Linked DNA regions of Homo sapiens: region 2 is linked to region 1. Evidence: promoter capture Hi-C in 16 types of primary human blood cells and fetal thymus (Javierre and others, 2016). All regions are on one chromosome and are shown on one strand. Each heading gives the region's core, a stretch centred on a gene start or on the middle of the fragment in contact. The rest is flanking DNA. Distances are from core to core; before and after follow the strand shown. Region 1 holds the start of KIF21B (kinesin family member 21B). Region 2 overlaps ASCL5 (achaete-scute family bHLH transcription factor 5).

Region 1 (4,706 bases), core at 339-2,838:
CTTTGGGCTGCAGAGGCCTGGCCAGGTGGCCGTGGCAAGGGGCATCTGCCCTGGGGCAGGAAGAAGAAAGCTTTTTCATTGCCATCTCTGACTCTGTCTAGGAGCAACCTCCTAGGACCCCTGGAATCTGGGTCACATATGACCCAAGGGATCTAGAGACCTGAGAGACCTACCCTAGACCTGGACAATCCCCCGCCCCCTCCATCATACAGGGCTGGGGCAGAGATAGATGTTCTTGCCACATCCCTACCTTGGTGAGCAGCTCCAGATTGGCACTCTGCCGCCAAGACACCCCTCTCAAAGAGAAAAACCCAAAGCAAAAACTGGGAGAAGTGGTGAGGTGTGAAGCATCTCCACCCAGCACAAAGAACACAGATGGCTCAATTTCACAGCATTTCCTGCTCCTGCACCTTTGTGTACCCCTCCCAATAGAACCCACCCAGCCATGTCCTCTCCCTGTCTCATTTCTGCCGGCTCAAGTCCCGGAGCTGTTGAGAATGGAACCCCAGATAAGTCTAGGCAACCCTCCCCTGCTCAATTTTATCTGAGTGCCTGAGGATGGGGCATCTGCATCACACCCTCCTGCCCTCTCAGAGAGAAGCACCTCAGATACACCTCTTCCTCCCTTCCTAGGCCCATCTCCTCTTGGGACAGGACTGGTAGGATTCTCCCCCAAAGCCATTGACTTCCCACAGAAGGCCAAGGCATCATCCCAGCTTTTCCGTTGGTCCCCGCACCCGATCTTTGTCTGCAGATCTGGCTCCCAGGGTGGGTGTGCTGCCTTTGCTAGCTGGACCAAGAGCACATAACTAGCTGACTCGCATGGATGAGGGGAAATTTCCCTCTCTGGTATCCCCGTATGAGACAGCAGCCTCGTGGGGAGGCGAAGAGGAAACGCACAGACGCTCCGGCCTGGGCCAGAGCTGGGTGTGAAATACCGGATTTCCTTGTTTATTCGATTTTCTGATCATTAAGGGCTCCCAAGAGGGGCCCAAAATTACCACCCAAACAAAGCCACCTTCCAGTAGTCGGCGGGGTCGCCGCTCCCCTGCGGCAGACTGGCCAGCGCGCGGCGCCCTCCATCCCGTCCCACGCCGGCCCCTCCTCCGGGAGTGCAGGCTCCAGCCCAAGCGGTGCTCGCGCCCCCCGCCCAAAGCCCACGCGAGACAAAGCCCGAGGCTTCTCCGCGCGCCCCCTTCCCCGCCCCGGGTCCCTACCTGACGGCCACCTTGACGCAGCAGTCCCCCTGGCCGGCCATGGCCCTCTGGAGCTAGGGTCTGGGCGTGGATCAGAGGCGGGGGTCTGGGGGCCAATGCCCGAGGCAGCGGCTGCGGCTGCGGGAGGCGGGGGCGCGGGCGCGGCTGGCGGAGGCTGCGGCGGCGGCGGCTGGAGGTGACATGCTCGCGGGCGGCAGGCCGAGGGGCTCACCCGCGGCCGGCCCCCCGGGGCTGGGCCCGCGCGCCTCCTCGCGCCATCGGGCGGCGGCGCGGAGCTAGCTGACAGCCGGCGGCGCGACCCGCCGCTCCCTACGGCGCGGCACACGCGCACACACCTCCCACCCGGCAGCCACCTCCCGCCGCAGCGCGAACAAAGGGGGCGGGGGCCGATCCGGCCCCGAGCCCGCCCCGAGCCAGCCCCGAGCCCAGGCCGGGCCCCGCCCCGCCCAGGAGCCGCCAATCGAAAGCCCTAATGAGCAGTGGGGGCGGGACTCGCGCCTTTAAAGGGACCTCTTGGCTCGCGGCCACGGGGTGGCTGGGGGTAGGGGGCGGGATTGAAGGGTGGGGGTGGGGGTAGGGGTGGGAGTAGGGGTGGGGGCGCTGGACGCAGACCACGTTAGAACCTCGGCTCCTGGAGTAGCAGAACCTCGGCTTCAATGGGACCCTCATTTCATAAATGAAGAAACTGAGATTCAAAGAGGGGAACTACCGAAGGTTACAGAGCGAGTTCGTGGGTAAGCATGGTAAGAACCCTGGTCTCCCGGGGATCCCACAGCGATTGACGGTTTATAGTTCAAAAGAGCCAGGAAAGCTTCCCTTCTGCATTTATTCCAGTAAATTCGCCAACCCTTCTCGAAGGGAGTTCTTGCTAGCCCCTAACTAAAATTTCCCCCACCTCCACCCTGCAGCATCTTAAAGCTCATGTTTTAGTTGATTCCTGGCCAGGCTCCTAGCCCAAGACTAGCCCCTCCCTACTGCTAGACGACTGTCCCATTGACCTTTATGACCCACAGATGACCCCACTGGGCCTGGCTCACACTCTGCTTGTTGTGGCTGTGGGGCCAGAGGGTCAGTGTGGGAGGCCTGAGCTGCCCTGGGGGAAAGGAGGGAACAAAGGGGGCCCTCAGTTCCGAGCACCTGGGTAGAGAGGCTGGGCGGTGAAGTGGGTGGGGAAGGGAAGGAGGGCAGCTGCCTGCAGGAATGGGTATAAAGGACAAGGAGGACCATGGAGACTTTAACGCTGGGCCTGGATGGAGGAGGAGACCAGTGCTGCAAAGTCACAATTCCCTTCCCAGTCCATCTCCCTCCCTCTGAGCCCAGACGCCTCTTCCCTGCCCCCTGCCTCCCAACATTGGGGCCATTCACAGGGCCCCTCACCAGCTGCCCTCACTTCACCCAGCTCCCTCCCCTGGAAAGGGCCCAAGAGGAGGACCCAGCTGCAGCCCCAGATGTGGATGGGGATCTCTGGGGGAGGGGAGGAAGGGGAGTCTGACTCCAGGCCTCTTACATTACCCTCAGATGATGAAACCATGTCAGAGATTTTGGCAAGGGTGTGGACTGGGGTCTGAGGATGCATCTGTTGGTACCATCTTCCTCCCCTTCCCTCCTCCACTCACACCCCCCTCCCCGCCAATAACTGCTTCATGCAGTAGCTCAGATCCCTGTTTGGCTTGACCTATTAAGGTCAAATCAAAACCAAAGATAATTTCAAGGGCAAATTTCAAGGGCCAATCAACACATCCTTTTCATCCCCATGGCAAACAGGAGGAGCACCGCCAGCAGTGCCCCCATGATGGGGGCTGGAGAAGAGGTCTTGGTGGTATCCTGGACCTTTTATTAGCATTTGAATCTAGAGGAAGCTCTCCCTGGGGCCAGGGGATCACCTCTCCTGGACCAGGAGGTTAGCAGAATGTTGCAGTCATATCCTGCAACATTCCTCCCCATCTTCCAACCAAAATAATTCGTGGGGAGGAGACTAACACATATGGACCACCTACACAAGGTATTTTATGCACATATTCTCATTTTTTCCCTATAACCTTGTAAGCTAGGCTTTTTTATTCTTTTTAAATTTTGCAGATGGGGAAACTGAGCCTCACATGTATGAATTCCAGCATATAAGCAACAGACTCCAGATTTGGACATGTATATCTTATTCCAGGCTTCCCAGATGACCACCAAGGTGGAAGGGATGATGATGTCCAGGCAGAAGGGAGCTAGGCCGGCCCAGGCTTTTCCTCTAGGCACAGCGGACTCCAGGTTCAGCCTTCCCGGATGGTAATGTTGCATTCTGAAGAGCTACTTTCCCGCCAACTCATCTCTGGACTTCTCTGGGGCCCAACTCTGGTTTCCTGCCTGCAGGAGGTCCCCTCTGACTTCCGACAGTAGATGACCCTTCTGACTCACAGTTCTACTGCTGGGAAATGCCTCCAGAGCTGCTGCCCACCCTCTCTGCATCCCTCCAGGTCACTGGGTGTTGAGTCAGGGGAAGCAGGGATACACACGGGCGGGAAACTCAGGTCTCCTAAATGTCAGAGCCTCAGGACTTCGGCTACTCAGAAGTAGCTCCCTCCTGGGCCACCAGGGAGCAGCAGGGCAGCCAGCATCCAGACATCCCCCCTGGGTTCTGCTGCTCAGAGGCTAGATGGAGAACCAAGGTGGGAAAAAGGCTTAAACCACAGCGTGGGGAGATTTAGGTTAGATGGGTCAGAGGAAGTTTAGGACAAGCCTTGCCCTTTTCAGTTTCTGTCCAGCTTCAGCACAGCCACTGCTTCCTCTCTTTGGTTTTTACCCATCCCCCTCTCTCCCATCACCTCTATCCCCTTCCAGCTTTCCTTTCCTTCCCTCCTTCCCAAACCCCAGAGTTTCTCAGGATTAGCTGCCCGTGTGCCTATCTCCCCCACCCCCATGCTTTCCTCACTGTCTCACAGAAACAGGCAAACACACACACATGCATACAACCATGAGCTGGCCCTGAGAGTTCTCTGACTGGACTGGGGTTGGAGCCCCAGCTCTTGTCCTGAGCTGAGGCCCTTCCCCCAGGTATCTTGGGGCTTCCATCATTTCTCTTGACAGGAGCTGTGGGCGTCTGGGCAGATGGGAACCTGGGGGAGGTGTGGGGAGCCCTCTCTGAGGCAGGAAGCTCCCACGCTACTGTAGTTAAAATAATCCGGCAGCAACTTGGGGCAGCCATCTGGGATGCCCAGATCTTCCAGGACACCCAGCTCTCAACAACAACCCTATAGGAACAAATCAAAAACCTAAGAGATACTTATAGGCCCTGGAAATGTCTCCCAAAAGTGGCCTGAACTTGAGCCCTGTTTCCTTTTATCTTCTTCAGGTTAGCACTGGGCATTGGCATTTGCAAAAAAACTCTAAGCATTAAGCAAAACTTGTAGGAGTGGAAGATACAGCGTTCTGGACCTCCAGTCCTAATACCCAGCCACACCCCAGCAGCTATGCATGGTTCCATGGGAGAGCAGGCATAGC
Region 2 (4,795 bases), core at 1,591-4,090, 98 kb after region 1:
TAATCATAGCTACACTTATTATTCATGATGTGCAAGACCTCATGCTAAGAGCCTGATGTGAATCATCTCATTTAATTTTCACGCCATCCTTGAGAGGTAGGTGCTAATATTGTCTGGTTTTACGGGTGAGAAACTTGAGGCACATGAAGGGTAAGTCACTTTTTAAAGGCCCACTGTTAGGAATTCATGAACTAATAAAGGTTAATCCACCACCTCAGTTTCCCACCTCTTCCCTCAGTATTTCTACTAGTGGCTTCTCATCTGATCAAAGGAACAGAGAGGTTTACACTGACCTAACAAAAGGATCTTAGTAAATTATTCCTGCTGGAGAGGAATTACAATTATAATGATAATTCCTGGAGGGGATGTCCCGCTGAAGATTCCAATTATAATGCTGTTATTTAGCTTCTGCTAAGAGAAGAACTAAAGGTCACCCCGGTCATCTTTTGGGAGGGTAGCACCCCCTTGAAGATGTGTTTGGAGGGTGGCCCATGGAGTTCTGCTGCTGGGAAGATACAGACTGGAGTATCATCAGACTGAGTCAAGCAGCAGGAGCCCCCTTGCCTGAGCTTAGAAAACCTGAGCAAAGGCCCCAGGAGGATCTATCAGTAGCAGGGAACCTACTCATCGGCTAAGTTCATGGGACTGGGCAGAACCAGCTATCAATAGCGCCACGGTGTGGTGGTGAGACGCAGTGGCGGCAACAGATTGATGAAATTCGCATCCCGACCCCACGGGTGTCGAAGTCATCACTTCCTGTGACAGCTCCCTTTGGGGACTGTGGGTCCCTAGGTCTCCTGGAAAATTCAGGGTAAGAGAAGACCCCTTAGGAAAAGCTACTGAGTTTTCTGTCAACATCTACTAATTTTCTCCCTGTGTTTGTGAAGCAATTCGTATCACTTAAACTTTCACTATGTACACATACATAAAATATGTATTAATACAATTAGATGTATTTTGTTGTTTTGAATTAAAAATAGCAGTTGCATCAGCATTAGGCAACTTACTAGATAAAAATGTGACTCTGAAACAGTGGAAGAGCTTTTCCTCTACTCTTAGCCCCCATGGTGACTGCTGAAAGAGCTAGTTGAGTGAACCCATTGATTGCATTGAGTAGGCACAGACTATTAGTTGCAGGCAATGCTGTCCACCTTTTTAAGGGGCCCTGGTTCCTCTCTGGGACCAGAGCCACTCCTTGCCCTCAGCAACCCCATTCATTACCAGCTGTACTCTAGTTTACTTTGCCCTGGGAAGCAGCCGAGCAGATGTGCTTGGCAGGAAGTAACTGCTGTTCCTCCCCAGAGCTTTCTTCGTGGTGCAAGCTACACTGAGCTGTTAGGCCTGCAGTCTACGCTCAGTTGTACCATGTACAGTTAGTTTGTTTAGGGCCAGCTATCATCAATTATTGTGCAAAGAACTTTCTAATCCTCAAATCTGACTTGCACCAGAGAGGGCGTATTGTCAGCGGGGGTCTCCTGGGCCTCCTTTGCAATACCTTGCCAATTCTAATTGTGTAGCACTAGTGTTTGCCCCACCAATATTAGCCCCTTGTTGTCCCTATTGCCAGAGGATCTCACTGTCCACACCCCTGGGGATGGCACATTATCATAACTTGCTGTTAATGGTTTCATACTCATCCCCTGCCCATCTCTCCCAGGCCTCTCCCTGGTGCTCAATGTTCACCAGGGCCCTGTCTCCCCACCCTCCTCAGCCTTATACTCTGCATGGGCAACAGGCAACCTGAGGGCCCTCTCCCCAGGGCTCTTCCTGTCACTGCCCCCAACCCAGGCTGTAAACTGTGAGCCCAAGAACTCTGGTCTTATCCTTCTTTGAGACACACAGTACACGCTCAGTTAAGTGTTTGTTGATTGACACTGGTGGGAAGCCCTGGGGAGGCAAAGGCAGATGTGAACTTTGAAGAAGCAGACAACATAATTCTACCTTTCAGGCTTTCCTCATTGTCTTTAGCAGGACTGGAACCAGAGTTGGGGGTCTGAGGTCAGGAATTGGCTGAACATGTCTCTTTCAACAGGGAACCCATGGCTCTGAAGGAAGTATTGGGGAAAGTGATTCCATAGTCTTCTTCTTCTCCTACCACTCTGAGAGATTTCTGAGAGTTGACCAGTCCATAATGCTGCTTTTGGGCAGCAACAGGGAGACTGCTTCCATAGCCTCCCCTCTACCCACTGCCGCCAAAAACTGGGAACATTTGTAAGGAAGCCCCAAGGACTCAGAATGACAGAACTCATTAGCTTTGTGGAATCCTCACTCATTCCCCTGCCTCCAGGCAAGGTGGTTGCTAAAACCTTTCCCCTAAGGGCTGCATAATTTGAGAAATGCAGCTCCCCGCATTTCCCTCCTTGGATACCCACATTAGCGTTGGCCCTTGGAGGGCATGTTAGCATCAGAGGCCCTGGGAAGCCCTGCAGGTAAAGAAACCTGTTTGTATTTAACCCCCAAATTCCCAATGGAACCACAGAACACTTAAAAAATGGTCTTAAGCCCACTAACATCAAATAGAATACACTTCAGGAAATTCTGCCTTTAAATCTTCAGGGTAAATGTATTTTTTTAAGAAACAAATAGGGGCTGGTGTGTGGCTCACACCTGTAATCCCAGCACTTTCGGAGGCCGAGGTGGGGGGATCGCTTGAGCCCAGGAATTTGTGACCAGCTTGGGAACCTTGTGCTTCTAGTCTTGTTTAAGTCTTACTCACCGCTACATTTTCCTTTAGGAATTCAGTTTTGTGTGTGGTTTCCAATAGGGTTCTGTTTTAATTTTGTAGACCAATAATTAGCAGTGTCGATTTATTTAGCATTCATTAAGCAGGCCATCTTTTTATCACTAACTTGAAAAAAATCTCTCATTAAATATTGTATTCATCTTTCATTAGGTTCTGCATACTTTAGTAGAGACCCTATCTCTACTAAAAATAAAAACGGTTAACTGGATGTGGTGATGCATGCCTGTAGTCCCGGCTACTCAGGAGGCTGAGGTGGGAGGATCAGTTGAGCTCAGGAGGTGGAGGCTGCAGTGAGCTGTGATTGCAGCACTGCACCCAGCTGGGTGACAGACTCAGACCCTGTCTCAAAAAAAAAAACCCCAAAACAACAACAAAAACCCAAATAGGAAATCTTACAATCTCCCTTGGGGGGTCTGTCACATAACCTGTACATATTTCTAGAAGGATAACCTCACCACCCCCACCATATACATAGTGAACACTCCAGACCACATATTCAACATAAGCAATCCTTTCAGAATCTTGACGGGTATAGTTTCAACACTGATGGGAGAAGGGGCAGCCAGGCCCTGTGACCATGAGCCCACATGGCACCTTGCTGGGTTAGAAAATGATGCTTCATGCTCTGGGTGGGTGTTGTGCAGGCGGGATTCCAGCCCCACTTGCCCCCTTAGCCTGCACTGAATGAGGAAGTACTATCCATGGGCCCCAGAGCCTGCTTAGCCCCTCACGCTGCCCTCCACGCCATCCTCCCTGCCTCAGGTTTGGAAACCTCTGTTGCTCCGCAGCAACCTGGCTGCATCCAGTTTCACAAAGAGAAAAGCTCACAGAGCTTTGACATGGGCTGACCAAGCCAAGTCCTCAATGTGGCATCACTTTGCTGAGAGTCTTAAAGAAGAGAAACAGGGTGGAGAAGGATGGGCTCGCGTGGATTAGGTGCCCTCTGATGCTTGGTGCTTTGCGGCGTGCTCTGCTTTCCTTATCCCATGCTATCCTCACACCTGAGAGAAGGTATTACTGTTCCTGTTTACAAAAGAGGAAACAGGCTCAGAGAGGCTAAGAGAGCTGCTCAGGGTCACACAGCCGATTGAATTTACCAGGGTCTCATTGGGTTGATATGAGGACTTTCTTGGCCGGGCAGCGGTCCCCACCTTTTTTATGAGTAATGATTGTTACAGGATCTCCTGGGGGTGGAGCTGGGTGAGGAATTTAGTCCTTCCCAGTTCCCTGAATATAACCAGGCATTTGCAATGCTGTGGAGTTATGGGAAGATGTTCCCAGAGGCAACCACCCCACTGCTAAACCCTGAGCACGGGCTTTAGATTAAACTGGCCGGGATGAATCCTGGCGCTGCTCTTACTGGCTAAGTAGCTTTAGGCCAGTTACTGACTTCTATAAGCCTGTTGCCTCATCTGAAAAGTGAAGGTAATAATACCTACCTTAGAGGTTACTGTAAAGACAAAGGTAATGTATGTGAGCCACGTGGCACCTAAAAGCAATTGAATTAATGGTAGCTCTTATTGCCGTTAAGGGACGGGTGACCTTCAGAAAAGCTCCCAGAAGCTCTAGGACCCTTGGATGTGGCTAAGAGAAGCCCAGGACGGCAGGTGCCCCACCAATATTGTTCCACCAATGCTTACACCCAGTAGCTTCCCACAGTCACATCTGTCCTGAGTCTAAAAGGAAAATTCTATGCATTAAATGTCCGATTTTTCCCCTCCAATCTTTGAATGAAAAGGGTAACTGAATTCAAATAATTCTAATAAATTGAATTTATTCAACCGTGTGTTCTATCGCCTGTCAATCCACCTACCAAATAACATCTCCTGAGCTCCTTCAAGGAATCCTTCTGTGGGCTGGGGACCCAGCAGAGGACAACCTCAACTGCTGCCCTCAGTTTAGTAGAAGAAAAAAGGACTGCATCTTAGTGCCCACACATGCCTAGCACTTACCTATATGCCAGCCGCTGTTCTAAGTGTGCTACAAAACTCTCATTACAGCCTTATGATGTCAGGACTGATGGTATCCCCAACTTACAGATGAGAAGAACAA

Evidence for each region. Contacts are between HindIII fragments. The CHiCAGO score rates a contact against its expected background, and 5 or more counts as called.
Region 2: a fragment that was not itself captured here is called in contact with the fragment with the promoter of KIF21B in region 1 in 1 of 17 cell types (naive CD4 T cells); the score reaches 5.4 in naive CD4 T cells.

Annotation. Positions count from the first base shown.
Region 1 is chr1:201,022,126-201,026,831 of GRCh38, forward strand. It overlaps KIF21B (kinesin family member 21B), which reads right to left and starts at 1,589. Exons shown (of 35, transcript NM_001252102.2): 1 at 1,218-1,589. The coding sequence starts at 1,258. It overlaps LOC101929305 (a long non-coding RNA gene), which reads left to right and starts at 1,824. Exons shown (of 4, transcript NR_188464.1): 1 at 1,824-1,960; 2 at 3,379-3,494. RefSeq lists an enhancer at 1-391 and silencers at 996-1,045, 1,446-1,805, 2,157-2,314. The HindIII fragment of the contact is 1,958 bases long and covers 69-2,026 here.
Region 2 is chr1:201,118,740-201,123,534 of GRCh38, forward strand. All of the region lies in intron 1 of ASCL5 (achaete-scute family bHLH transcription factor 5), which reads right to left. Among named protein-coding and RNA genes, the nearest start is that of ASCL5, 6.0 kb to the right of the region's middle. The HindIII fragment of the contact is 9,756 bases long and covers 1-4,795 here.